Regions from separate parts of the Homo sapiens genome. Here regions 1, 2, 3, 4, 5 and 6 are each linked to region 7. The links are contacts of gene promoters, found by promoter capture Hi-C in blood cells and fetal thymus (Javierre and others, 2016). All regions are on one chromosome and are shown on one strand. Each heading gives the region's core, a stretch centred on a gene start or on the middle of the fragment in contact. The rest is flanking DNA. Distances are from core to core; before and after follow the strand shown.

The links. The method cuts DNA at HindIII sites, captures the fragments that hold promoters and counts their contacts. A CHiCAGO score of 5 or more calls a contact.
Region 1: a contact is called between a fragment that was not itself captured here and the fragment with the promoter of VWA3B in region 7, in 2 of 17 cell types (M2 macrophages and M0 macrophages). The highest score is 7.7, in M2 macrophages.
Region 2: a fragment that was not itself captured here is called in contact with the fragment with the promoter of VWA3B in region 7 in 9 of 17 cell types (total B cells, M2 macrophages, naive B cells and 6 more); the score reaches 14.2 in total B cells.
Region 3: a contact is called between a fragment that was not itself captured here and the fragment with the promoter of VWA3B in region 7, in 7 of 17 cell types (M2 macrophages, megakaryocytes, naive B cells and 4 more). The highest score is 11.5, in M2 macrophages.
Region 4: a contact is called between a fragment that was not itself captured here and the fragment with the promoter of VWA3B in region 7, in 1 of 17 cell types (M2 macrophages). The highest score is 6.4, in M2 macrophages.
Region 5: a contact is called between a fragment that was not itself captured here and the fragment with the promoter of VWA3B in region 7, in 1 of 17 cell types (M2 macrophages). The highest score is 5.9, in M2 macrophages.
Region 6: a fragment that was not itself captured here is called in contact with the fragment with the promoter of VWA3B in region 7 in 2 of 17 cell types (erythroblasts and megakaryocytes); the score reaches 6.0 in erythroblasts.

What each region holds. Positions count from the first base shown.
Region 1 is chr2:98,387,009-98,390,367 of GRCh38, forward strand. CNGA3 (cyclic nucleotide gated channel subunit alpha 3) reads left to right here. Exons shown (of 8, transcript NM_001298.3): 6 at 2,650-2,766. Among named protein-coding and RNA genes, the nearest start is that of CNGA3, 42 kb to the left of the region's middle. RefSeq lists a silencer at 1,090-1,277. The HindIII fragment of the contact is 5,884 bases long and covers 1-3,359 here.
Region 2 is chr2:97,814,266-97,817,564 of GRCh38, forward strand. TMEM131 (transmembrane protein 131) reads right to left here. Exons shown (of 41, transcript NM_015348.2): 13 at 934-1,042; 14 at 1-123. Among named protein-coding and RNA genes, the nearest start is that of ZAP70, 100 kb to the left of the region's middle. The HindIII fragment of the contact is 3,223 bases long and covers 387-3,299 here.
Region 3 is chr2:97,796,311-97,799,598 of GRCh38, forward strand. It overlaps TMEM131 (transmembrane protein 131), which reads right to left. Exons shown (of 41, transcript NM_015348.2): 26 at 1,055-1,206; 27 at 534-676; 28 at 1-94. Among named protein-coding and RNA genes, the nearest start is that of ZAP70, 84 kb to the left of the region's middle. The HindIII fragment of the contact is 2,650 bases long and covers 599-3,248 here.
Region 4 is chr2:98,341,811-98,345,029 of GRCh38, forward strand. No RefSeq gene overlaps it. Among named protein-coding and RNA genes, the nearest start is that of CNGA3, 3.0 kb to the right of the region's middle. The HindIII fragment of the contact is 1,746 bases long and covers 917-2,662 here.
Region 5 is chr2:98,358,014-98,361,434 of GRCh38, forward strand. All of the region lies in intron 1 of CNGA3 (cyclic nucleotide gated channel subunit alpha 3), which reads left to right. Among named protein-coding and RNA genes, the nearest start is that of CNGA3, 13 kb to the left of the region's middle. The HindIII fragment of the contact is 2,396 bases long and covers 495-2,890 here.
Region 6 is chr2:97,776,911-97,780,007 of GRCh38, forward strand. The region is part of intron 31 of TMEM131 (transmembrane protein 131); the gene reads right to left. Among named protein-coding and RNA genes, the nearest start is that of ZAP70, 65 kb to the left of the region's middle. The HindIII fragment of the contact is 4,038 bases long and covers 1-3,097 here.
Region 7 is chr2:98,085,568-98,088,691 of GRCh38, forward strand. VWA3B (von Willebrand factor A domain containing 3B) reads left to right here and starts at 1,600. Exons shown (of 28, transcript NM_144992.5): 1 at 1,600-1,796. RefSeq lists enhancers at 1,328-1,828, 1,725-1,794, 1,829-2,329. The HindIII fragment of the contact is 2,164 bases long and covers 403-2,566 here.

The DNA.
Region 1 (3,359 bases), core at 482-2,981, 300 kb after region 7:
AATACATTTATGTTGTATAAGTTTGCAGTAATTTGTTCCGGCAGAAATAGAAAACTGATCCAGCTATTACGGTAAACTCTTTTGTAGTCTGCTTCTTAACTTAGCAAAATATTAGGAACCGTTTTCCCACGTCACTAGCTCTTCTGAAACAGCGTTTTAAGTGGCCATGTAGAATTCACCGTTGAGGATGAGCCTGCATGGTCGTGTGATTCGGTGGCTCTCCCTTTTTGATTGTCATGAATAATGGCAGTGATTATTTTTCCACACGTATCGCACACAGCCTTGATTATTTCCATAGGAAGTGTTAGGTAATTGTGAATGGATCTTTTTCAATGAGTGTTTAATTAGCAGAATTTATCTCTCAACCATGCCTTCCTTCAGCGTGTGGAAGAGAGAAATCAGAGGGGCCTGAAGGGGACTCGAGGGGTTGTCCCTTCCGCAACCTTTGTTTCTTCAACTATTCAATGGGGCATTACTGCCTGCCTTGAAGAAATTTACATGTATTCATTAGATAACTTTATAAGAGTTCCTAGCTCTTAAAAGACACCCAATAAAGAAGAGGCAGCAGTGTGAAGTCTTATGTTGAAGAAAAACCTGCAGTCACAGGACCATCCTGCGGACGCTGCCTGAACCGTCTCGCAGCCCAGCAAAGTCCGAAGGCGTGTCTGAACTCGGCCACATTTGCGAACCTGCGACCACACGTATTTGCCACTACATGCGTCACAGACCCGCCTCTTCGAATGTTGCTTCCCTTCTGCTCACTGGCTTTCTCATTAAGGCCCAGGTTTTCACTTGATCCAGAGAGAGGTTTCAAGAACAGCGGACAGGCCACACCCTTCCATTCAGAACGGAGAGCCTGGCGTGGGATTTCCAAAACTCCGAGTAACTTTCCCAACTTCAATGTGTGGATTTGGGTCTATGTCGTACTACCTCAAAACGTCTCCAGTCTCTGGCTGTTTGTGACTTCCCAGGAGCTCATGAAAATAGATCAGAAATTGTAGAACATTAGACTGAGCCACTAATTTCTCAATGTATACTCAATGGGGTGGTTTACCTCACGCTTCAGGAATAATAATAACAAATCAATAACCCCATTTCATCCCAATGCGCTGGAAGCACCCCTTGCCACGCCCTCTCTTCAGGACGTCTCCACGACGCCACACGCCACGCCCTCTCTCCGGGACGCAGCAGCCTGCCCCTTCCATTTGGTAATGTCCTTGATATATGAAGTCTGCTAAATGTGCCCCGGCATCATCCAGCAGCAAGGCAGAAAAGAACGAAGAGAAAAAAGAAGAGAGAAAAGCTACCTAAAACACGAGGAGGAAGTACTGAAGGAAGCTGCCTCTAAAGACGGGGTGCCATGGTCCCAGCAGGCCTGACCCCTCCCTGCAGGGCTCCAGGGCTGGGTATCTTGGAGCAACGCTATCAGGGGGCCTTAGCTTCGGCCCTGGAGGGGAGAGGGTGCTTGGAGCTGAGGAAAAGTCGGTCCCAGCAGGCTGCAGACCATGCCTCCTGAGACCATGTGAAGCCCCCATCTTGCAGAAAGAATCCTCTCCAAGCTCCGGGAACTCAAGGGGGGCTTATAAGTAAAGAGAGTTGCTTGTCTGCAGCCTCCGGTGGGCAGCCGGGGGCTGCCCCTGTGAGCCTGCTCATGTGCCCCCCACCCGAAGCATTTCGTTTGCCCTCACAAGTGGGCCGGCCACACGTAGGCTGAGGGCTTCTCTGGGGCACTGGAAGATACAATGTTCACAAACTTTCACCCAAATTCAGTGGTGATGAGAGCTGTAGGGAACGTCCCAAAGCCCGGTCAGTGAGTGACCTTGCACTTGCAGCATCCAGGTGAAGGCAGGAAGTCACTGGGGTCTCCGATGGAGCACAGGAGCACTCTGCAGGCCTGGGCCAGCGTGGGTCGCATGGGATGGCAGAGGGGACACATGGACCCAACAAAAAGGCAGTCTCCAGTACAGCCTGTAAACTTGAATCTGCGGGAAATTCTAAGAATAAAAGTTAAGCACTCTAAGCTATGTATTTCATTCCGTGCGGGCCCACGTGACAGGTTATTCCCAGGCTTTTGATGGAGAGGTGTGATGCAAGCCCTTGGAAATGAGCCTTTACATCGTCCGCACAAACACAGTGAGGGAGGTGGAGAGGGTTCTGGAGGGAATACTGTGGGGCTCCCCAACTCTGTCCAGAGAGGGGCTGCCTCAGAACTATCCAGGCAATGCTTAAATGCATATTTCCAGGCCCAGCCCTGGAAGAGGTGAGTGGGCCCTGGGAATCAGAATTTTCTGGAAGTTCCCCAGACTTTAGCAGACCTCTGTGACATTGCCATGCTGCGTTTTCATTCTCAGCATCCTGAAGGGTGTGGATGTTGTCGTGGGCACATGGGAATGTCATCACCATTACCTTATAGTCGACCGTGACCTCCTGGGACTGAGCTGGGAGAGAAGGACCTCTGGAGTCTACCCTACCTCCTGGCCTGCCTTCCCCTACAGGGACTCCCCATGTGACTCCCTTGAGACTAAGAGGACCCTGTTGTGGACAGCCACATCTTGGGCTTCAGCCTGAAATTGCCCTAGGCTCTCTAAAACCCTCCAAAGCTACAGTCTTGGAGCACAGTGCGCTGTTTGTGTATGTGTGGGTTTCCAGGAAGAAGACGAAAAAGAAGGATGCGATCGTGGTGGACCCGTCCAGCAACCTGTACTACCGCTGGCTGACCGCCATCGCCCTGCCTGTCTTCTATAACTGGTATCTGCTTATTTGCAGGTAAGCGACAGGGGTGGAAGGTGCAGCGGAAAGGGGGAAACCAGGGCACCAGGCCCAGGAGCCAGAGCTCCACCTCTCCCTCGGGAGGCCTGAGGCCTGGACCCCTCACGGCCACCACTTAGTTATTGTGCCTCGGTTTCTCCTTTTAAAAATAGAAGGTTCCCCAAGAGGACCATCAGAGTGCTCTGAAGCATGGGTGGGGAATTGAGCTTCAGGTGGACAGCCAGGGTTTCGGCACTGTGGGGCCCCCTCAAGTGAGTTGTACGAGGAGGATGCAGGGGCGGTTGCTTCTCTTTGGAGGGATAAGTGGGTGGTTCTGAACATGCAGCAGGGTAGGGAGGCAGGGGCAAGCTGCTACTATTTTTTTCTTTTTTTTTTTGAGACAGAGTCTCACTCTGTCACCCAGGCTGGAGTTCAGTGGCGCGATCTCAGCTAACTGCAACCTCCACCTCCCGGGTTAAAGCGATTCTCCTGCCTCAGCCACCCGAGTAGCTGTGACTACATATATGAGCCACCACGCCTGGCTTTTATATATATATATGTATTTTTTTTTTAGTAGAGACAGTGTTTCACCATATTGGCTAGGCTGGTCT
Region 2 (3,299 bases), core at 748-3,247, 270 kb before region 7:
AACACATCGTGAATGAGGATCGCAAAACTGAAAGTGTTAGTAAGGTAAATTGGCCTTTCCACAGGATCAGCAGGGCTGTCTCGGATGTGAAATAATGTTGCAGCATGATCAAATCCCAAATAACTATTAAAAAAAACAACAAGAACAAAATAAATCATTTTTATTTCCATGTGTTAATTTAAAATCCAAGTTCTTCTGTTGTAAGTAATAATTTACATTTAGCATTAGGGATTGTATTAAAGATTTAGAACTATAATATTTTAGTGATTGACTATATGATTTAAAACAAAATTTAGCTTGCAAAATACTGAAATTAATACAAACAACCATTCTCTAATGAATTATATGAATCATACAATTAGAATCAAAGACATATCAACAAAAAAAGCTTTACTTTGAAAAAAATCATGCTTATCACTGAATTACAAGGAGCTTTGCTAAAATGAATCTTTGCCAAGTTGAGTATTAAACTACTATTGGTTAAAGTACAATAGAAAATGAACATGTCACTTCCCATTTATAAAAAGTTGTAATTCTAGAAGTGTTTATGAATTTATAAAGGAATATAAAGAATTCTGTTTCGAGTGTCAAAATACTTTAATAATAGGCCACAATCACTTACATATTACAAACAAATGTCAGAAAGGAAATGGTTCAAATGATTTAAATAATATTTAAAAAATCAGATTTTTGAATCATTAAGTCTTCATTTAAGCCCAAATCCTATCATCCCACTTACCCTTTTCTTCTAAAAAAGTAAAATATAAACAAAATATAGGAGGTTTTCTCTTTTATAGTTGGGGCTGTTCTTTCAAAAAATAATTCCATCAAGTTTATGTGAACGTGGCTAGTATTTCTGCAGGTCATTTAGCAGGAAAATATAATTTACTGATTAGTAAAAAGTAATAGAATTTATTTTAAAAAGAAACTCACCCATCTAAAACTTCTGCTTGATATGGTATTTCAAGTTTAGAATAACTCTTTTCCTTTGCTTTAACTGTTATTTTCCCAGAAAACTGAGATGGCTTTTTTGCCTTCGATGCTGAAAGGAAGCATAAAAAATAATCTCTGTTACCTTTTACTACCAAAGAGAATTAGTGAATTTATGTAAATTGACAAAATCTTAAAAAAAAAAAAAGTTGAGCTTCCAAATTGGCCAACAGAACACTTTTTATAACATTTTAAATGAAACATCACATTTTTCATACAAAAGGGGGAAAATGTTTTATATTTCCTGTAATAAGATAAGCAGATAAGGAATTAGCTGGTGAGCATGGTTCAGGAGGTAAAACACTGTACCTAAGCTGCTTTGCTGTAGCCACAGGCTTTGGCTTTACTTACAGCAGAATTTCTCATCCTTGGCACTGTTAACATTTTAGGCCAGATTAATTCTTCGTTGCGGAGGCTGTTGTGTGTACTGTAGGATGTTTAGCAGCATCCCGGACCTCTACTTGCTAGACGGCAGTAGCATCCCTGCAGCTGTGACTACCAAAATGCCTCTCTGCATTGCCAGATATCCCCTTGGAGGCAAAATTACCCCCCACTTAGCCCTGCTGATTTACACTTGAACTGAGAAAGAAATAACATTTCTTGTATGGCCAAAGTCTTGCTCTATCACCAATAAAGTAGCATGGTATAAGAAAAGTCAAGAATTCAGAGCTCTTCTCAAAAACCAGCCAACCCTAAAACTCATGGTATAAGAGGAGATAAATCCCCTCCTGTCATCATATTATATTGTCCTCATCTTAGATGAAGTAAAAACTTCAGATTTCATAGCAGTTTTGAATAATCCTGGCTGGGTGCAGTGCCTCACATCGGTAATCCCAGCACTTTGCCAGGCTGAGGCAGCCAGATCACCTGAGGTCAGGAGTTCGAGACAAACCTGGCCAACATGGTGAAACCCTGTCTCTACTAAAAACACAAAAACTAGCCAGGTGTGGTGGCACGTGCCTGTAATCTCAGCTAGTTGGCAGGCTGAGGCAGGAGAATCGCTTGAGCCTGGGAGGTGGAGGCTGCAGTGAGCCGAGATTGCGCCATTGCACTCCAGCCTGGGCAACAAAGCGAGACTCTGACCCAAAAAAACAAAAATTAAAAAATAAATAAATAAATAAGGAATTACAGAAATTGATTCAGTTGGGTCCAATCTAGGTACCCATTAGATGGTTCTTTTCAAAGCAAATAAAGAAGCTGTTTATGTTTATCCTCTTAGAGTACTTTAGGAACACTTCCATTTATGTGAAGAATTCATATGTGAGTTCCGCAAATGTGTGTCATCCAACCTCATGACAAAAAAGAACAAGGAAATGGTATGACATCTAGTGTTTGACTATGGCAGACACAGACTTTCCATTTTAAAAATTCCCATTCAGCCTCTTATTTCTCTGCTTGCTAGTTAGCCATCTCTGGATGCTTTCAATTTTTCACTATTTGTTCTGACGTAAGACTGATTACAAGGGCCACATTTAAGCATTTCATGACATTGTATCATACATAGCAAATAAAGTGGTCAAAAAGCTCAAGAAAATTCTGTTGAAAATCATGAAGAATAACTTTTGATGAGAAAGATGCTTGATAAATGAACACTGCAGAGTTAATACATATATAAGGTGCATTCTAACAATATTAAAAGTTAAATAACACACACTTCCTGACTGATTTTCACAGCAATCTCAGAGGTATTTTGTGTGGGGATCCAGCATGGCAGTGGGAGAGGTGAATGGTGGGGGGATTTTCACATGATATTAAAAACCTACTTTTAAGAAATGTAGCATTTGCTCTTAAAGATGCTTTCCCTTTGCTGTTGTTATTTAATTTTACATATTTCTTTAAGAAACAATTATCTTAGAGCCTACGATCTCAGAAGAACCAACACTAATGACATCGCATTTATCTCAAGAAGGGAAAGATTAAGTGGGTGGTCAATACAGGAGCTAGAGAAGAGTAGCTCTTCACCCTTGCAGAGCAGCTCTTCACCCTTGCAGACCATGTGGAGAATTTTCCGGCACATCTGTGAAGGGTGGGTCCTAAATGCTCTTATCCTGGCTGGGTGCAGTGCCTCACGTCGGTAATCCCAGCACTTTGCCAGGCTGAGGCAGCCAGATCACCTGAGGTCAGGAGTTTGAGACCAGCCTGGCCAACATGGTGAAACCCTGTCTCTACTAAAAATACAAAAATTAGCCGCCTCCTCCTCTGTAAGGGAAGACAATGTACCTCGTGATACTGACACTGGTAGGCATGAATGTGGTCTCTCAGCAGCATAGAGAACACTTTACCACAAATGTAGAAATTACTGTGGCATT
Region 3 (3,288 bases), core at 674-3,173, 290 kb before region 7:
ATTTCAATGGTTTCTATGTGAATTTGAAGTTGTCCTGTATTCTCTACCTTAAATGTTCTTTTCAATGTGAAATTTGGTTCTCTTAGTTTTAAACCTAAAGGATAAAAAATCAGGAATAAGACTAAATCTTGCCATCATGTGCTCCCAGTCCAAATGATAAATACATTATTCATGAATTACTATATGTCACAGGTTATAAACCATCCCTGCATGTCAGAGAGATCAGCTGTTCCTCAGATTTCATCATGAGGTAATCTACTTTGATAAATCATTTTAGATGGCAAAAGTTGACTATACTTCACATTTCATACTGAGAGTAAATCAGCTAAGGTATGCAATGAGTGCAAACACTTTAAATCTTTTAAGATCCAAATCAAACAACTCTAAACACAACATGGAATTTCCTTAAGCTCTTAAGCATTCATAACTAATATACACAGGTGCACATACAGAAATAATGTTGTTTTTGAAATTATTTACTGTTGAAAGCAAATGCTGAAATTAGTGTCCTTGAAACTGTTAGGAAGACTTACTATCTGTACAATCTTTTAACAATGCTTCCGTGATTTTAAAGCGTAAGGAGCTTCCTGGACCTGGAAGCTTGCCTGCCACCCTCAAGTTCTCAGTTGTTCCTTGTCCTTGGACCATCACAGCATCCATCACAGTCAGGTTATTTCTATGCAAGAATGAGAATTACAGATTTTTCTCTCATTAAATCTGCACAATCTTTTGATTTGCAATTTCTACTGTTATTTTACAGAGCACCACATAGAAATTAAATTTAATGGTGAGAATTTATACTTTAAGAATTCAAAAATACACAGAGAAGAGCAAGTTTTTATTTTTAAGAGACACACATTAAGACACCATTCATGTTTTTGAACTATGCATTTGATAACAAAGGTATGTTTCATCAGGCATGGAGTGTGTGCATGTTTTGGACAAAGTGAATTCAAACTATTTCATAAGTTAGACATGCAAATTCATCTTAAAACAAGTGAGGACTTCTAAGTAAGTAGTAAAAATGAACCCACACCTATATCACAGAACCTACCTGACTATGATAAGTGAAGAAACAGTTCTGTTGTGAACTGGAGTAAACTTTACTTTGACAGATTTCTTTTCTCCAGGTTTTAAAATTAGGTTTAAAATTAAATGTCGAGAGAGGCCCTCCATAAATCCTGTTGAACTCTGCAGTGGATGAGCCTTGAATCATTGGGTAAACAGAGAGGAGTCATGAATATATTCTCTGGAAGAATGTTTCTTCGCTTACACCCCATCTAGAGCCCAGTATAGTTTCTCAAACTGATTAAATGCATAAACAATTTTATCTGTCATGTTTAGATATGGGTTAGCTGGAAAGCAGCACAGAGTAACCAACGATGAGATTCATATTCTACATTAAGTCCAAAAAGGGGCTTTCTTCCCCAGGTCACCAAATAAAGTCCTCAATGTTTGCACAAGGCATTTGTTTTTGGATACATATCTTTTTTGTTTTTAACCTAAAAATTTGAAATATTCCACACACAGAAAAGGACACAAACCTAAGATGATCAGCTAGACACATTAGCACAAAGCAAACACTTGTGGAACCAATGCCAGCACCCCAGGCCTCCTGATGCTTCCCGCCACTGCTCCCCTCTGAAGGGGACCAGGGCCAACACCTCAGGCCTCCTGCCACTGCCACGCCACTCCTCCCCTCTGAAGGGGACCAGCTGAAGGGTCTTCAGGCTGCACCGAATGTTTAAATGTAAAAAGATTTCCAATTCCTATACATTTCTCCTTGAATCTTATTTTGAAGGTTACACACGCTTACTGTTTCATAAACACCCAATGATTTAAAGTTTAAAGCATAGCTTAGTTTAATATTCAAAATATGACTTTTTGACAGCCAGTTATAGTTAAGGTTGAAAAACATTTGCTTTTTTATTACAAAAACAGTCACAGGTCACATATAAGGATATACCGTTCTGGTTTTTAAGCAACATTAAGTGTAAACTTTTTTGAGGGAAGGGTTGTCAACGCTTGGCTATAAACATCCACCAGTTCTTCATGGCTTCTGCTATCATGGAAGGAGGGTGCATTTTGTATTGTTTTCTACTCCCCCTGGCATAGATCGGTGTGTGTTTCACACATAGAGATCTAGCTACTTGCTTCAGCATGATTCCACAAACATTAACTCAGAGTCAACAGACTTTATGAAGCACATTACTTTTAATTCTTGCTTCTGAGGTAAATACGGTTGTCTCTGTACATGCCAGAGATTGGTTCCAGGATTCCTGGCATAACCAAATCTGCGATTTTTCAAGTAGCAGTTGGCCACTGTGGAATGTGCCTACAAAAAGTAGGGCTCTCCATATATGCAGTTTTGCATCCTGAAAACTGTATTTTCCATCTGCACTTGATTGAAAAAAATGTATGCGTGCGTCAGCACAGTCGAAGCCTGTGTTGTTCAAGTGTTAACTGCTATTTTTTTCCTTTCTGTCAAAGTCCACTAAGACAGAAGAATATTCCAACTGCTTCAAGATGGTTGGTGAGTAATTTCCCTTTTAAATCAACTACTCTGATTAACTGATGGACACAATGATGTACTATACATATATTCCCAGCAAGCACTAGCTAATTTAAACTCTCATGGTTTGGGGAAAACTTTAAGATGTTGTGATGCCTCCCGTATACCATTCAGGACCTTAATAATTTTATAGTGGTGGTTCTCCAAGAGTGACCCTTGGACCCCTGGGGATCTCAGGGATCCTGTCAGAGTATCCACCACGATGTCAAAACTATTTTCATAATAATACCGATAGACGTTATTTGTCTTTTTCACTATGTTGGCATCTGCACTGATGGTCAGCAAAAGCCATGGAGGGTAAAACTGCTGACCCCTTAGCATGCATCAAAGCAGTGGTATCAAACTTTCCTAGCAGCCATTGTGTTTTTCAGTGTCATTCATTTGTATTTAAAAAAAAAAAAAGTCCTCGATTATGCCATAAAAACTTCAACCCTGGAGCATGTCTTTAATATTCTGTGGGATACAATGGGAAGTATGTAAAAAGTATTTCTACAGCTACCATGTTGTTTTGAAAAGCTGTTTGAGATGGAAGCTGAACTAGCTGCTTTTCTCATGGAACACCGTTTATGTCTGAAAGAATGACAGACAGTCCATGGTTATTCAGACTTGGGCATCTGGCAGGTATTTTCACAGAAATAAGTGAGCCTACTGAAGTATTTGTTTCTAATAAAATTCAAGCTTTTGAGCAAAATTTAGGATTTTGGATAATTTGTATT
Region 4 (3,219 bases), core at 540-3,039, 260 kb after region 7:
CTCCCAAGTAGCTGGGAATACAAGTGCACCACCATGCCCACATATTTTTTTTAATTCTTTATTTTTTGTAGAGATGAGATTTCCTTATGTTGCTTAGGCTAATCTCAAACTCCCAGGCTCGAGCGATCCTCCCGCCTTGGTTTCCCAAAGTGCTGAGATTACAGGCATGAGCCACCACGCCCAGCTAATTTTTAAAGTTATATTATGACTAATATAGTGATGTCTGTAAATTTTTTTAAATATGGCAACTAAAATCAAAATAATCCAGGTACGTTGACAGAGAGGAGCTGAGCAAGACTCACCTCTCTTCTATATGATATACTTCTATTAAGTCAGCCTTATTTCTCATTAACTTTTTGCCAATTTTTGTGGAGACACATCACCCTGAGGCTTCGCATCTTACTGAGCGAGTTCTGGTAAGCCACGTCTCCTCTTCCTGTACTTGGGGGGCTGACTTTTTGGACGCTGATACAGAACTTTACATGTGTTCCTGTTATGTCTTTTCTTGGCCTGTATATTTAGTGCATCATTGAAGGCTCTCAAGATTTTTTTGGATTTTGATTTATACTCCTTAGTCACCATATATTCTGAGTGCATGTTAGCTATACATTCTATAACTCCGTATCCATATTAAAATATGCAGGAAACTCCATATGTTCACCCAAGGCCGTGATAATGATGTCAAACTGAGCAGTACTGAGTCCCAGAGCATATCACACCTATTAGCGAGCACTTTGATGCCGTTCACATCACAATCCACAAAAACAGCCTTGCATCCAGCACACTGATTGCCAGCTTAGCAATTAGAAAAGGTGATTGTCCTTCTTTTGTGGGTGGAAAATGAAGGCTTTAGGCTTAGAGAAAAGCTCAAGTGATTTCGCTGGGCCAGGACTAGGCTCAGTTGTAACCGGGGCCAAGCTTGCCCTCAGTATTTAAAGTCTCACCTGTGCCCTTTCCCCCTGATCTTACCCACCTCCTGCTATGGCGCCCATCCCATGCCACGCTCACTGGCCTGCAGGATCCTCAAATGTGCTCCTCAATTTTTCCTACCAAAACTTTGTATTTGATTCTTTATCCACACTCTATCTCATGGAGTTATTGGCATTTTAAAAGGGATCCAAGTTTGAAAATAGAGAGATGACGTTCCAATGGTAGGACTTCAGGCATTGATGGTCAGACAGTAGAAATTTGGAGAGTGGAAAGCTGGCACTGGGGTCTTAAGGGCAGCCCCTATAGCGACTGTTTGCAAAGCTGACCTGAAAGAGACAGGGAGTCCCCAGGGGACAAGATAGATTAGATCCTATGGTCCCACAGTCCTCCTCAAGCTCTTAATGGTATTTGGTTAGAATTTCTAACTCTTCAAATCTTGTTCATTCATTTAATTTAACTTTCCTTCTATTCTTCCAACTGCCAGGTAGGTGAGAGAAATAGATGCCATCATCTTGATTGCCTGAGAAGGAAACAGGCAAAGTGGGCTTTAAAGACAGAAAATAACTGCTTTTCCCCAACTTGGGGCCTCCCCATCCTGCAATTTTGCACTGACTGACAGAATTCCTGCGGGGAAAACTGAGGCATCTTGCTTCTCATGTAAACCTTGCCTGTCTCCTCATAAATATTTTATTTCCCAAAAGCCATTCCTACAAATTGCCTTATCATTTGCCAAGGATCTAGACCATCTGCCAAAGCAAGTTCACACATCCCTCCTTGCTGATAACTGGGTTTATCTGTTTGCATTTCTGTGTATCGTCGGTTAGTCTGGCTTATCTACTTATGAGATTGTGTGTTCTTTAACACACTGGACACCATATGGCCCCCAGCAGAGACAGCAGTCCTGTTGCCTACCTATGGGCACTATTTGTGTGCCTTTCAACCCTGACTATAAAATATCAGGTCCCTAGTACATCTAAAATTTGTTTGGACTGGGAAGATTTTACAAAATTAGAATCAAAAATTTAGTTCTTCCCGCCCCTATTTTTAAAGCAATGTGTACAATATGCATACAGAATAAATAAATAACAAATTATTTACACAGTGAAACTAAATGAACTATAGCTACAAGCAACATCACCAAATCTTACTAACCTAATATTCATTGACAAAAGCAAATCCCAGGAGACTACATAGACTATCACATTGTTTCTAAATTTCAAAAACACAACTAAACATCATTGAGGAGTCCCCCGAGCCACACATGTACACACTTACGCTCAGACTCAATACATCTGGGCTTGGCTGGTATTTTCCTTTCATTTCCTGGCACCGAATTCACAGGTGGATAGAACTGGTCTCATCAGGCTCCCTGGCTCCAGACTTCCTCAGCTCCTGGGTGCTACTCTTTTCCCCACAGACCCCTCCCCACTTCCTTAGTGTCCTGGCTGAGGCTGAAGCAACTTAGCATTCACCTGGCCCCCACCCCCTTCCTCCCACTCTCACCTGCTCTGTCAGAAAGAGGAGATGGTGCTTTCTCCATAGCTCTCTTCTTCCTGTGGTCTCCCTATTCTAACAAACACCAAAAGACTTTGGGTTTCTGAGAATCGCGCTCCTTGGTCTCTTAGTGCCATGGGCCTGTTAGAGCATCCCACTAATTTATTCAGAGGTTGCTGTATCCTGCATCTTCACAAAATCTTGCTGTCCCTTCCACACTCGACCATGCCTCAGTTGAAGCTTGAGCAATAATTGGAAAGGTCCCCAGAGGCCACTCCATTGAGTGAGCATTGGGCCAAATCTGGACCCTCCATCATGGCAGCCTAGGATCTTGCAGCTCGATGACTTTTGCAGGCAAATTCACAGATACATCCCCTTCAGTCTCTTTCCATTCATTTCCAGTCTCTTCATCTGTTTCCACTTTTCAGACACCCAAAGTTCTTCAATGATAACTATTGCCACATACATCATTCCCTAGGGGCCAACTATGTGCCCATTTCTGTGCTAAACACTCTATCTCATTTCATCAGACTCAGGACACTTCTCCATTTCTTGATTAATTCTGTGAGGTCTTGTTTTCCCCTTCAAATCTTAGGAATGATGTGCATTTCAGAAACAAAGTCCAAGGGGATTTTTCAGGATGATGCCTTAAAATGATCTCATGATCACTACTATTTACTCCAAAATCAGGATTTAAGATTCTTTTGAAACTCTGAAATGTTTCTGGACAACAGAAAATAATCATCTGCTTCCAGTCTTCCCTGAGGACAAGCCAGCAGGAAACAGCTTTAACTT
Region 5 (3,421 bases), core at 443-2,942, 270 kb after region 7:
TCACGCGTGATGGATATGGAAGTGCCTCGCACCCAGGGGGCCCTGGCTAGATGGCAGCTTTCATTGTCCACAGAGCCTCAGGATCACTGATTGTGGTTTCATTATCTCATTGGTGAGTTCTACTCACAAAGAGTTTATCAAGGCAGGGCCAGATGTGAAAACACATGCAGTGGTTGGGTAATCTCTTAAGATGTCATGACTCAAAAACTGATAAATACAGGGAAATAATTGTTTATTCGGCCTTTCCTATAGGAATTGACCAATCAAATAATTAAGAGTAAAATTTTTTCTTTTAAAAATATTTCAGCTAATTGAGGAAGGAATGGTAGAATACCACCAACTTGCAACCTCTAATGAATTGATGGATCTAGCAAATGAACATCAACAGCTGCTAATGTCCCCCAGAGAAATATAAGATCTTATGTACCTTCTGATGGAAGAACAAAGAATCCCCTATGAAATTGTCATGCAAAAAAAAATTAATAAATTGACCAAGCTTCTGGGTACAGCTACCAGTAGTAGATAACATTTTAAAGTTGGAATTAGCAAAAATTCATACTGTAGTAAACTCCATTGGACAAATAATGAAATTTCTACACAAAGAGAAAAACTTTAGAGGTAAAAATACCAAGAAGATATAACAACCAATCAACAAGATTGGTTCCTTATTTGGTTCCTCCTGATTTTTTAATGTATTTTTTCAAAGACAACCATTTATGACACTTATGAGACAATAGGGAAAAAAGATCTTCTGAGTTATCTTAAACTTACATTTCCCTTTAGTGATGTACATTTTGCCCTGTCCTACTCCAACCATTGTTTTCCTGGATAAAGAACATAGAATTAAAAGGGAAACTTGGCTCACTCCTAAACCTTGAGGGACTTGGGTCAAGAGTACAAATGACCCACTTACTGTAGCCCAAATATCTAAAAGTTAAAGATTCTCTTAGCAGTGATACCCACTCCCCTCCAAAACAGAGCCTTGAACAGGGAATGCAGGCAGGCAGTTTATTTGGGGAGTGATTCCAAGGAACAGGAGTAGGGGTCTTGGAGAGGGCAAAAGGGAAAGAGGACAAGCCAACCCAGATGTCCATTATCAAACTGATCGCCACTCTGGGCAACCAGGGGTTCTCCAAGGAGCCAGGTAGAAAGTGTCTCAGAGCCACCTTCCTGAGGGATGGAAGAGTATATTCCCTCAGGCTCCTGCTTCTATTGGTCCAGGGTTGCCCCAAGGATGTTACCCCTTCAGCTTTTGCACATGTATCAGAACGGTGATGTGGTCTCAGCAAGTGTTTCCTGGGGGAAGTAAGGAAGCCCCCAAGGCAGAAGGCCCTAGAATCTGCAGTGTCACTGAGGCAAAGTACATGGGTTACCCAGCATGCAGCTGGTTGCCATAGCAATGGCTGGACTGAAAGGTGGGCAGGAAGGATGCGAGGTAGAGGACCAGAAATGACCATTACATGGACCAAGATAGCACACTGTTAAATCAAATGTGCCCACCCTCCTAAACTGGCAAATACACTGCATTACCACCTGGAGGCCAGGTTCAAACCGAGAGTACTCAGGCCCCTTGGAGTTGAGCCTGAGAGCAGGAAGTCATGAGGAGAGCTGATCTCTGGTTCCCTGCCCACAACCTGCCCCCTTCTGTCCCCAGCCCTAGGTCCACACCACGTCAAAGGGGCCTTGCACAGGAGGCCCTGCACACCTGTCTGTGGACGCCCTGGCCACATCTCCAGGCTCTGTCTCCCCCACCCCCCACAAACAGCTGCTCCTTGGCCATCCTTGGGCCTAGGGGAGTGCAAGCTGGTGCACTCAGGGAGATGGACCAGGGAAGAGTCCCAGGCAGGCTCTAGAACCAGTTGAAAGCCTCTTGGACAGAGAATCTGGGGGTTTGGGGCATTCAGACCATAGCTGGAGCAGGGGCAGGGTTCCCGGTGGGCATGGCCCCTTGATTCTATGGGCTTCTCGACCCTTTGGGAGGGATGTGGCTGGAGGAGGGCCAGCATGGGGTCCTTTAAAGCAGAGACCCCTCCTGCCCAGGCCTAAAGGCAATACCAGTTCCCTCAATGACTTTGCACTCTCAGGTTTTGGAGTCAGACAGATTTTTAGTCAATCCTGGCTCCGGCCTTCAGCAGCAACCTTAAGGAAATGACTCACCTGTCCAGTTTCTTCATTTGTAAGAGAGGGAGGGGGGCTGCTGTGAGGATTAAGTAAGGAAGTGTTGCACAGCACTCACCTGTGGCTGGCACCTAGTGGCCCTCAACAGGAGGCAGGTCTATGGGAGGACAGAGGTACTGCCTCCATGCAATGGCAGTGGGACCAGAGTTTGTGCCCAGGATAGAGAAAGCAGCTGAGGGGGCTGAAGGAAGGGGCACAGGCTGGAGACAATGCACTTTATTTGGTGTAATTTGCCTGGAAATGTACAAAGAAGAGTAATTCGATAGTTTTTCCACAGAGTCCCAAACTTCTTTGAGACTTGCTCTGCACCCCACTTGACTGTCAGCTCCTGGAGGACAGAGCTGCATATAGCTCTCTAATAAAGCCCCAGCTTCTAGCATATTGCCTGGCACATAGTAAGTGCTCAATTAAAAAGTGTTGAATGGACAATTTTGAATTGGATTTATTGCTTTTTTATCTAAAAACATATAAACATTCCATTTTAAAGTATTGAAAATAATGAGGCCGGGGGGAGGTGGGAGACAAGGATTTGGCCAAAGTCTGCATATACTAAGTCAAATAGGGTTGAGTCCTAATGTGGCTTCTGGACCTCACACGTTCTTTGGAAAGTTACATAACCTGTTATAAGCCTCCATTTCCTCATCTATGCAATGAAGACACTAATAGCATCCACCTCAGAGACTCTCATGTTAGAATAAACAATGATGTAAAAAGCTTAGCACATTGACTGGAATAAAATCAGATTTCAATATATTATAACTACTACTATTTGGATAACACACATGAATATGTGTGTTATTTTTATTTTTATTTTATTTTATTTTATTTTATTTATTTTATTTTATTTTTAGTTCTGGGGTACATGCGCAGGACGTGCAGGTTTGTTACATAGGTAAATGTGTGCCATGGTGGTTTGCTGCATCTATCAACCCATCTCTAGGTATTAAGGCCAGCATGCATTAGCTATTTATCCAGTTACTCTCCCTCCCTGCCACCCCTGGAGAGGCCCCAGTGTGTGTTGTTATTCCCCTCACTGTGTCCACCTGTTCTCATTGTTCAACTCCCACTTATAAGTGAGAACATGCAGTGTTTGGTTTTCTGCTTCCGAGTTAGTTTGCTGAGGATAATGGCTTCCAGCTCCATCCATGTCCCTGCAAAGGACATGATCTCATTCCTTTTTATGGCTGCATAGTATTCCATGGTGTATATGTACCACATTTTCTTTATCTAGTCTATCATTGAT
Region 6 (3,097 bases), core at 327-2,826, 310 kb before region 7:
CCTGGGAATGGTAACTGGTGCATGAGTACTATGTAATGTTGTGTATATATATGGACAGAGAGTAAAATGGACATACGGAAAGCCAACTACTTGGAAAAATCTGGATGCTATCAAGACAAATGAGAACCAGCCCCGAACATATTTCCCAGCAGTGTTCTGTGTGCTGGGAACATAGTAGCAAACAACAAGCAAGCTCCTGCCCTCATGGAGCTTACAATCCAGCAGGACTAGACAGAGGCAGAGAAAGCCCCAGGTTCTAGCACCTCAGATTGTGCCTGCAAAATCACCTGGGCGGGCAGGCAGGTGCAAGCTGCAGAAGACACACAAGCCACATTTTAACCCAGTCTGTACGGGTCATAATTTCTAATACATCTTTTCGATAATGGTGACTTAATACAACTTAATTAAAACTCCAATGTTTTAGGCGTTATCCCAGAGAATGCCACCATTAATGGGAGACTCGAACCTCAGTGTTTAAAACGGGTTGGCAAACTATGGCCCATGGGCCAAATCTGGCCTGCAGTCTGTTTTTTATGGCTTGTGAGCTAAGAATGATTTTTACATTTTTGAAGTGGTCGAAAAAAAGACACAAATAAGAAGAGGCAACAGAGATAGTCTGTGGCCCATAAAGCCTCAAACATTTACTACCTGGCCCTTTACAGAAAAAGTCTGCTGAGCCTGAGCTAGAAAAAGAGTAAGTAAATCGCTTAGTGATTTCCAGGAATGTCATTTCATCATTTATTGCACACTGATTACAAGAAGTGTTAGATCTGAAACCATAACTTGGATAGTAAGTCTCAAAAATTGAAGGGGCATCTCGTTTCAAGCATAGGACTGACTAGTTTGTTTAATTATAATCGTGCCACTGTGCCCCAGCTTGGACAACAGAGCAAGACCCTGCCTCAAAAAACCAAACCAAGCCAAACCAAGCCAAACCAAACCAAACCAAACCAACAAAAAACAGGCCCCTGACCTACATCGAAGAGCCAGAGCTTCTCCCCATCATGGTAGACAGGAAGGGGAGTGTCCTGCTTTGCTCCATGAGCTCTGGGATTTCTTACATTCTGAGAGTTCAACAGCCCAGGCTGAGAATACTTCAAAATTTCCCATACAGTCAAGATCAGTTCCCCATATAATAAACTTCTCACCTGCAATTATACAATTTTATCATGCTTAGGTTCATTGGGTGAGGGGCAGTAAATCTGTATAAATAATCTATATTTACAATAACCTGAAACTTCCATAATAAATATGAAATGGCTGGAAATGAATTTTCAAAAACTAAACTCAAAAAGTGAAGCTATGAGTAGACAAAAAATACCTAACATAACAATAGTTAAGTTGAAAACTTCAGTAACAAAAGATTAATTCGGCTCAGGCCTGTAATCCCAGCACTTTGGGAGGCCGAGGAGGGCGGATCACTTGAGGTCAGGAGTTTGAGACCAGCCTGGCCAATATGATGAAACCTCATCTCTACTAAAAATATAAAAATTAGCTGGGCATGGTGGCATGTGCCTGTAATCCCAGTTACTTGGGAGGCTGAGGCAGGAGAATCGCTTGAACTCAGGAGGTGGAGGTTGCAGTGGGCTGAGATCGTGCCACTGCACTCCAGCCTGGGTGACAGAGCAAGACTTCATCTCAAAAAAAAAAAAAAATTATTGCATGGAAGAGTAATTTACCCTTTTTATCTTAAAATCATCACCTTATTAACTCAATATGCAGTCCTTCGACTTCTGTCCCTAGCACCTTAACAAAAGTGATTTTGGAAAGGCTGACAAGAATCTCTAACCTGTTGAAGCCCATGATGCCTATCATTCCTCATTCTACATGACCTTCCCGTTCCACTGGACACTGTAGAATGTAGCTCCTGCCAGGCCCCACCATGAACCCCTTCTTCTGACAACTTCTTTGCTGACTCTATCTTTGCTGGTATTCCCTAGAGATCTGCCCTTGGAGCTTTTTCTCTTTTTCCTTTACATTCTCCCTAGGGCTCAATTTCATTAACATCAACAATCCAAGTCCCAAATGTCCAAAACTGAGTTAACTATCCCAAAAACATCGTGTGGATTCTCAAGTTTGTGATTATGGTTCTTAACCAGACACACTTCAGAATAACACATGGAATGTTAAAAAGAAAATACTGCAGTCTGGGCCCGACCCCTCAGGGTCTAGGCCCCACCCCTCAGAGAGATTCTGACTCAACAGTTCTGGATAGAACCTAGGGATTCTACTGTGCACCCAGGCTGAGAGCCACTGGTCCATGGTATCAACATCAATCCAACCACCCAGGCTAGGAGCTACTTCAGGGCCATGTATGATTTCTTCTGCTGTTTGGATACCCAAAAGTTCAAATGTTAGTGGGAGGGGAGACAATGTGCCTTCCCTAACCTGACTGATAATACTGGATGCCTTCCCTAACCTGACTGATAAGACTGGATGGCCGACGTCTAGCTGCAGGCAGTCTCTGTCCCCACAGGGAGTGGCCTCTGCCTCCCGCTTGCCCCTGGGTGGGCTGAAGCAGTAAGCTGACTCTCAGGGCAAGCGTGTTCCTAAGGGTCTTGTCTCTTCCTTAGGGCTGGGTTCCAGTAGAAAAACTGGCCTTCAGAGAAAGGAGAGACTCTTCCAAATCTTTTGTTAGGTCAGTAGTTCTCAAAGTGTCCCCTGTTGCCCCAGAGTCCGCATCACCTGGGACCTTGTTAGAAATGCAAATTCTATGGCCCCATTCCAGACCTACAGAACCAGAACTCTGCGGGTAGGCACAGCAATCTATTTAACAAGACCTCCAGGTGACAGTAATAATGTATGGTCAATTTAGGAATCCCAGGGCTGGGCGCAGCAGTGGCCTGTAATCCCCAAAGGTTTGGGAAGCCAAAGCAGGAGGATCACTTGAGGCCAGGTGTTCCAGACCAGCCTGGGTAAAATAGTGAGACTTCATCTCTACAAAAAATTTTAAAATAAAACTAGCTGGGTGTGGTGGCACACACCTGTAGTTCTAGCTACTCAGAAGGCTGAGGCAGGAGGATCTCTTGAGCCCAGGAGTTTGAGGTTATAGTGAGTTATGATTGCACCACTGCACTCCATCCTGGGTTACAGAGTG
Region 7 (3,124 bases), core at 350-2,849:
ACTGAAGTCCATACCAACTATTTAATGCTTCAAAATAACCTTAAACTTCTACTCACTTATCATTCTACAATTTAAGTAAGTAATGTTTCACATTTTCAACAGAATGTATGCTTATAGACACATAAACACGAAAGATAGGGACAGATCATCTTGGTGACTTGCACGTATGTGGCAAGTGTCCTAGGGAAAGGAGCAGGCATGGGGTGAAGGTGGGAACAAGAGTGCCTGGCGTGACCATGTGAGGCAGGGCATTTGGCTATGTGTTGCTGTGTGCTCTGTCTCACCCCCGTGACCCAAGAATATTAGTGTGGCAGGGTGTGGACAGCAAGGATTAATGGGTCATTGGCAAACATGGGCGAGGCTGGTGTTTTACTCCCTTCTGAACAGTCTTCAGTACTATCAAGCTTTTGCTTGTTTTTTGGTGGTGTGGATGGCAGGTTTCATTTGCAGGGCCAAATATATATAAACTAATAACTGCCAGGAATGATTTGTGATATGGAATGAAATCTTTCAGTACTTTTTAAATGATAGAGGCATTAAAAGAATGCAGGAGAAATAAATTCCTGTGGATGAAGCAGACTTTTTTTGGGGGGACAGAATTACTCAGTTCTAACATTAACTATGTTTTATTAGTTCTTTGAAAAACCTGCAAATGATCTGGTCAGTTCTATAATTTTAAAATCTAAAATCGTTTACTATCCCAATACCCTAAAAACAATACTTACTGTGGGGTCTTTTATTAAGACTTTAAAGATACTTTTCATAAGCACAATTTTATTTCCTGGTGACTGGAAAAATAGGAAAATATTTAGAGCCTTTTGCTTAATTGATAAGGTAACACTGAAACAAAGGTTAAAAACAAAGCTGAATGGAGAAAATAATGCCTATAGAAATATTCATGTCAAACAGGTAAGAATATTCTTGGCAACTGCAGCCCCTGCCTCCACAATTGCAAAATTGCAGCTCCCTGTCCCTTCTGTCTGTCTCAGCTCCGCCCACGTCCAGTGGCTGAGCTACAACGAACTGCCCCACCTCTTTTAAAGCGTCTTTCTCTGAACTGTGCAAGGAAGAGAGCATCGCCTGACAGTGGTGAGGTGAAAATTAAAACTACACAGGGGTCAATGCTCTGCTGAAAAGTATGAAAAGAAGTTCGTTTGTAGCGTTTCCCGCAGTCTCCTCGCCTCTCCTCGGCCTCTGGCGCCTTCCTCCCCTGTCTGCTCGCACCCTATATTTCTACCCCAGCTCATCAGTGTATTTGTTTGTTAATTCATTCATTCTTTCATTCATATTCTCCGCTGTTGTTAATTTTCCCATTGACAGTAGGCGCAAGGGGCAACGCCACTCGCCCTGTCCCTCTAGCGTGGCCTCTGTTTGGGGGTCTGGGGTGGAGGTCGTCCCGGCCCGGGTGGTTCCGGACGCCGGCTTTCCGCACCTGGCTCGGTGACGGCCTCGGCGCCCCGCCCTCTTGGCCACGGTCCGCAGCCATCGCCCCAGTGAGGGCGCGGTCTGTGGGCGGGGCCGGCTCCAGGAGCCGCGCTGTGATTGGCCGTGTCCAGGCAACCGCGGAGACGCCGTCGTCAACAGACCGCGCTCGGAACCAGAGGCGCGGGTCACAGAGACCTAGAACAGCTGGAATCCTTCGCCCCCGGCGCGCAGCCTTCGCCCGCCGGAATCGCTGCCTTATCCACCAGCGGGATGCTTACCTCGCCCGCCCTCTCGGGTCAGGCGGGCCCGGGAGGATGGGAGGGTGGCTGCTGAGCGGGAGCCGCCACGTCTTCCACCCGACATATTGCCTAGTAAGTGTGGGAGCGATGCCTGCCGCACGAGAGCCGCCGAGGTGCCGAGCCTTCCAACAAGCGGCCTAGGGAGGTCTTGGAAAAATGCCATTTCTGAGGTGGACTACACGCCCACTTTACAGATGCGGAAACAGTACCAGGAAAGCTCGGTGACTTGCCCTGGCCCACTTAATCGTCCGCTACCCAGGGCAAGCCGAGGGTCAAGGTACCGACCCCTCCTACTCTAGAGCTCTTTCCATCACACCTCACCCGAGCCCACGCCCAGCCGCTCTGGTGGAAAAGCGGTTTTCCTAGTTTCTGTCTATGCCATAGGCCAGCAGTTCAAGGTGATGAAGTCCACCTGGGCTTTGGAGGGAACATGGGAACCAGAAGAAACACATTTCCTGAACATAAGGATAAATATGTATAGTCTAAAAGCCAAAGCAACACTTACATGGTTTCACAATCATATCAGTTTCTTTCACCCTCCTTATATGGAAATAAGACTTAATAAGTAGATTTAGTTTCCATTTGGTAGAGCTTTTCCTTTCATTTTCTTGGAAGCTCTGTTTCTTCTCAGCAATGACCTTCCTCCTAAAGCACTCCAATTATTCTCAGATATTGCCTTCTTGACTATTTTCTCAACGGTGGGACAGTCCGTTTCAATATCCTTGTCTCTGTCCACATTATTTGAGCCAATGATCACAGCCAAGCCTTGTCCCTTAAGGGCAGAAAAAATGGGAGGAGGTTTAAGGGTTTCTGGGGAAGAGTTGCATCAGGATCCATCATGAAGCTTCGTCCCAGTTTCCTTTCTTCCTGGAAAAATCATCGTTCACAAATTCACCTAAATCACAAGATATATATCCACCTAGCCCAGACTTCTTTTTCAGAAACTAACAGGGGTATAGGAAGTTTGGGGTGTTGATAATAAAGTAGCTAGAAGCTTATTGAATGTCTAAACTGGATTAATGGACTCTCAACCCTGCACTGTCCCTGAACCTCCGAGCACATAGGACCTTTTCTCTGAGGGCATGCTGACTTCACAAGACTGTCGCCCAGGGCAGCCCAGGAGCATCTGCTTCCAGTAGACGGGGCCCTTGTACAGTTGCCAGCTTAACCTTTCTATTTTCCCCAAAGCTTTGCCTGCCCACATTTTCAGCTCAGACTTTCACTTCCTTGTTTTTCCTTTTACACTTCCTCCTTCTTCTAAGGAAATACTTTCCTATCCAAACTCTATGTATGGTTCTTGGGATGGCCTCTAAAACTTAGGGCAATGCTCAACTCCGGTATGTTGTTGTTTCCGACTTCTGGGTTACTTGGTTCCCCAATTTATAATAACCTCAGCTGAG